2 separate regions of the Homo sapiens genome follow, and region 1 is linked to region 2. Evidence: promoter capture Hi-C in 16 types of primary human blood cells and fetal thymus (Javierre and others, 2016). All regions are on one chromosome and are shown on one strand. Each heading gives the region's core, a stretch centred on a gene start or on the middle of the fragment in contact. The rest is flanking DNA. Distances are from core to core; before and after follow the strand shown.

Region 1 (2,737 bases), core at 151-2,650, 500 kb before region 2:
CCTTTGTATAAGATGAAGAAAGCCTCTCCAGGAAATGACAAGTGCCCTTGGGAATTTAAGCTCTGCTCTCAAGGCCCTAACAAAAGATAAGAGAGGTTTTATGTCTTGTTTCCCTGAGACATTTGTGAACTGTTATGTGAAGTCACTTACAGGGCAAGGAGACTTCCTACAGCCTCTGAAATAATATTTTGGACAATCTCTAACTTACAAATGCTTGATTCAAAAATGATACTTCCATAAAATTAACTGCCATCTCTTGCTTTCCTCTCTCTTACTTTCCTCTCCCTTCTCAAAGGCCCCCCAGTAACACTGGCAGTTGAGCTATTCAGGAAAAAAAAACAAAAAAAACGATTTTGTAGAAAATCTGTGGGAGAAAGGGACAAAGCTATGATGACCAGAACAGTTTAGGAGACAGGAAGAGGGTAGGTGTATGTTCCCAAATAGGTCTTGCCTGACTATATGATGGCTTTCTGCCCCAAAATATCTTTTCTCACATAGCTTGAATTATTTTCAAAACTTTTTAATTCTGCCTGAAGATATACTATATGGAAACACATTGAGATAAATAAGCACTTTATTTTAATGTATACAAACAACATCTAGGAGGACTAGGGCAGTTACCAGACCCTTGCTTATTGGTGTTGCTTTGCCAAATGAGTGCTCATTGCTTAAAGGCAATTAATCAGCTTACTTTTCCTGATGACACAGTGAATATTAGGATAGCTGAGAAACTGAGAGTTTCAGTTGTGATAGAAAGGGTACTCCACTCTGTGGGGCTTAGCAGACTTCAATGGTGTAAGTAGGCAGAATTCTAAGATGGCCCCACAAGATTATTGAGTCCCTTTCGCATACACACCTTGTTCTGTAGCAGGACGAGCCGCAGACAAAACTCCTCAGACACCGAGTTAAAGAAGGAAGAGGTTTATTCGGCCGGAGGCATCGGCAAGACTCCTGTCTCAAGAGCTGAGCTCCCTGAGTGAGCAATTCCTGTCCCTTTTAAGGGCTCACAACTCTAAGGGGGTGCGCGTGAGAGGGTCGTAATCGATTGAGCAAGCAGCGGGTACGTGCCTGGGGGCTGCATGCACCGGTAATTAGATCAGAACAAAACAGGATAGGGATTTTCACAGTGCTTTTCTATACAATGTCTGTAATCTATAGATAACATAACCGATTAGGTCAGGGGTCCATCTTTAACTACCAGGCCCAGGGTGTGGCACTGGGCTGTCTACTTGTGGATTTCATTTCTGCCTTTTACTTTTTACTTTTTCTTTTTTTGGAGGCAGAAATTGGGCATAAGACAATATGAGGGGTGGTCTCCTCCCTTAGTTCCAGTTATTCAATCAAATGGTAGTATAGGTACTGCTGTGAATGGATTTTTCCAGATGAAATTAAGATGCTAAATCACTTGACTATATAATTGGAAGAGTATCCATCTGGGTGGGTCTGATCTAACCACACAAACTCTTTAAAAGTAGAAAGTTTTCTCCAACTAGTCACAGATGAAGAAGTCAGAGACTTGAAGTATTAGTGGGATTTGATGCTTGAGAAATTCTCTGTTGCTGGTTTGAAAATGGAGAGGGATAGGTGGAAAGGAATATGGGTAGCCTCTTGGAGATGAAAATGGCCACTAATTGACAGCTTGCAAGAAAATGGAAACCTCAGACCTACATATGAAAGGCATTGAATTCTGCCAACAACCCGAATGAGCTTGGAAGAAGACCCTGAGACCCAGATCAGAACTGCAACCCTGGCTGACATCTTCGTTTCAGCCTTGAGACCTCCACAGAGGATCCAGCTAAGCTATGCCAGATTCCTGATCCATAGCAGCTGTGAGCTAATAAATGGCTGTTATTTTAAGCCATTCAGTTTGTATTCTTTTGCCATGCAACAATAGAAACTAATACAAATGTGATCTCCTGGGATGAGCCTGAGGGTATTGGCATTCAAGGGTCTGGGGAGAAGGGCTCTATAAAGCAATGGGCTACCAAAAGCAAACTTACCTATTTGAATATTTTGCTGATGAACTGGCTCTACCCAAGAAGGTGGAAGGTAACTCTCTTCCTTTTTTCTTCCTATGTCTCAGCCCATAAACAACAGGACCTTCTAGCACCCAGCACTTAAATCAGGACTGTGTTTCTAAGGCTCAGTTTTACATGAGTTAAATAGATTTTCACAGTTTGGCTTGAGAATTTAATGTTGTAATGATTAATTTCATGTGTCAGCTTAACTGGATCAATAGGTCTCCAGATATTTGGTTAGACACACTACTGGATGTGTCCATGAGGGTGTTTCCAGATTAGATTAGCATTTCAATCAGTAGACAGAGTGAAGCTGATTGCCCTTCCCCATGTGAATAAGCATCATCCAATTCTTGAGGACATGAACAGAACAAGAAGGTGGAATAAGGGTGAATTTGCAATCTATGACTGACTGCTTGAGGAGGGACATCAGTCTTCTGCACCCAAACTTAGAATTACACCATCAACCACCCTTGCCTTCTCAGGCCTTTGGACTAGGATTGAACTATACCACTGGTTTTCCTGGGTCTCCAGCTTGCAGATGGCAGATCATAGGACTTCTCAGCCTCCATAATCACATGAACCAATTTCTCTCTGTCAATCTCTCTTTCTCTCTCTCCAAGTCCCATGGTTAGCCAACTGCAAGCTGGAGACCCAGGAAAACCAGTTGTCTTGGTTCCATTACTCTGGAGAACCCTGACTACTAAACATGTATATCA
Region 2 (2,700 bases), core at 67-2,566:
GGGCCCTGAGGGCTGAGGCTGGGCACCCCTGCGCACCCCTGCTGAGTGCCCGGCCACCAGAAAGACAGATCCCCCACCTTTCCTTCTCCCTGACCCGGCGCGCTTCCTGGGGAACAAACTCTCCCTTACCCTCAGTGGGGCTGGGGCCTCAGTCTGCGACATACAGTGGGACTCCCATGTCTGCATGCCTGAGGTGGGCGGAAGGGGGCGGTGGGTGCTGGGAAGACATCCGTCCGCTTGCAGCTCCGCTGAGTCTCCAGCACCTGAAAAGCCGCGGCCGAGGCCTGAGGGACCAGCCCAGCCGAGATATCGGGGGCGGGGCAGCCCAATCCCAAACTGGCGGCTGGACCCGACTCCAACTCGTTCCTCCTAAGTCCGGGACAGATTGTCGGGAGGAGCTTGAACTGAGCTTCGGCTCCCGACTGGGCCTGGGCCCGGCCCCCACTGGTGCCACCTCCCTCCCTTCCTGGCCCGGCTCCTGGCCCACACTCGGCCCTGGCCCGGCCCTGGCCCGGCCCAGACCCGGCCCGGCCCTGGCCCGGCCCAGACCCGGCCCTCTGAGGCTCCTCCGGGCTCCAGGTTGGCGCAAACAAAGCCCTGATTGACTGCCCGGAGGGGCGGGCCTCGCTGCATGGCCGCCTCCTCCCCTCCCAGGCCGCCAGGGATTTGCCGGGAAGAGCGGGGGCAGGGGGAGACTCCCGGGGGTGCGCAGGACCGCGGGGGGCCGAGTCCTCGGGCTCGAGAAGATTGTGTCCACCCGCTGTCCGAGGCCCAGGCTGTCCCCTCAGGTCGTCCTCCTCAAGTCCAAGGAGGGACATGGGAGCTCCTGAGGGCAGGGTGGGGTTCCTCGCGGGCCAGCTGTCGTCCTAGGGTCCCCGGTGCCACCTCAGTTGCGGGCTGCTTGTGAGGAAGGAGGGTATGGGAGCAAAAAATAGGAGGGGTCTTCCCGAGGCTCGGGGTTGATCAGTGTCGGTTCTAGAGCCTGCGGGGAAAAGAGGGCAGGAGAACAGGATAGTTTGTGCTTCCTTTTTTCCATTTTAACTTTTCCTCTAACGGGCATCCGGGCAAGAACAGGGTTCAGTAGTTTGGGAAGGGAGCTGGGGGAGGCAGTGGCGGCTGGAGTAGGTAGGCGAGTAAAAGGAGGAGGAAGGGCTGGGGAGAAGAGCGAGGCTGTAGCGGCTGCCTGTTGAGGGAGGAAGAGGTGGGGGGTGTGGAGGAGGGGGAGGAGAGAGAGATGACATGGGGAGAGGAGGAGGGGGGTTGGACGTGGGAGGAGGAGGAGAGGGCTCGAGGGACCGTCTGTCGCGGGACGGGCTGGCCAGCTGGGGCGCGGAGCCTGGAGGAGGAGGCAGCGGCAGCGGCAGCAGCAGCCCTCCGAGCAGCAGCAGCTGCAGCAGCAGAAACAAGTACCAGCCACAAAGCGGCTCCTCTGGCCCAAGCAGCCACAGTCCCCCCGCCGCGATGGCGCTGCAAAGCCAGGCGAGCGAGGAAGCAAAGGGGCCCTGGCAGGAGGCAGACCAGGAACAGCAGGAGCCGGTGGGTAGCCCAGAGCCGGAGTCTGAGCCGGAGCCTGAGCCCGAGCCCGAGCCCGTGCCAGTGCCCCCGCCCGAGCCCCAGCCGGAGCCCCAGCCCCTACCGGACCCCGCACCCCTGCCGGAGCTGGAGTTCGAGTCCGAGCGGGTGCACGAACCCGAGCCCACGCCTACGGTAGAGACCCGCGGCACCGCGCGCGGCTTCCAGCCTCCCGAAGGTGGCTTCGGCTGGGTGGTGGTGTTCGCTGCCACCTGGTGCAACGGCTCCATCTTCGGCATCCATAACTCTGTCGGGATCCTCTACTCCATGCTGCTAGAGGAGGAAAAGGAAAAAAATCGCCAAGTGGAGTTCCAAGCAGGTGAGTGGCCCCGCACGCCCCACTTGGCATTTTGGGCAAGGTTGGCCGCTCCCGCTGCCACCGACCCCATACCTCCCGGTCCGAGGCGCCCCTCCAACGCGCCTCTCCGACTCCTCCCCTTACCCCTTACCCCTTGCCCCTTGCCCCTTTCCATGGCTCTCCTAGGGTGCGGGTTGCGGGGCTTTGGGCAGCTTGGACTGGGGAGACTAGGTGCAAGGCGTCCCGGGGGTACGAACTGGGACATTCATTGATCCTTGGCAAGCAATGGACTTTTTTTTGCCCTGGGACAAATCTAAATGCACCTTTCAGGTTTAAGGTACCTTTGCCCCTGTGTGCTGGGGGAAAATATTTGCAGGACTTTTTTTTTTTTTGGAGGTGGGGAGAAGTCATGAGGAGAGGAGAGAATTGAGAGGCGGGGCGGGCTCTGAGAGAAGCACTGTACCGCTGATCTCCGCAGCAGCCCCCCGGTTCCTTTGGGGAAACGGAGGTGTTTTCTGTTAAAAACACTTTAGGAATCCTGATGACTATGAGCGAAGAGTCAAACACATGGCAGGCGTGCGTGTCTGCAAGAGAGAAAGGGAGGGAGGGAGTTCGAGTCGGGGTGTGAGTGCGTCTCTGGCCGCCGCCGTTACGGCCCAGCTGGGCCCGGCAGTCCTCTGCCGCCCCGCGGGAGTGAATGGATCTCCGTGCCCTATGAGCCGAGCCCCAGAGCGGGCGGGGAGGCGGTCTCCGCAGTCTCCTGCCAGAGAGGCGTGAGGCCGCAGGCAGGCTGGGCCCTGCTGCTCACTCCGCACCGCCCCCAACTTCAG

What was found. Contacts are between HindIII fragments. The CHiCAGO score rates a contact against its expected background, and 5 or more counts as called.
Region 1: a fragment that was not itself captured here is called in contact with the fragment with the promoter of SLC16A2 in region 2 in 1 of 17 cell types (monocytes); the score reaches 5.1 in monocytes.

The regions. Positions count from the first base shown.
Region 1 is chrX:73,917,461-73,920,197 of GRCh38, forward strand. No RefSeq gene overlaps it. Among named protein-coding and RNA genes, the nearest start is that of JPX, 25 kb to the right of the region's middle. The HindIII fragment of the contact is 2,892 bases long and covers 1-2,737 here.
Region 2 is chrX:74,420,177-74,422,876 of GRCh38, forward strand. SLC16A2 (solute carrier family 16 member 2) reads left to right here and starts at 1,317. Exons shown (of 6, transcript NM_006517.5): 1 at 1,317-1,891. The coding sequence starts at 1,462. It overlaps LOC105373252 (a long non-coding RNA gene), which reads right to left and starts at 472. Exons shown (of 2, transcript XR_007068267.1): 1 at 130-472. The HindIII fragment of the contact is 8,329 bases long and covers 1-2,700 here.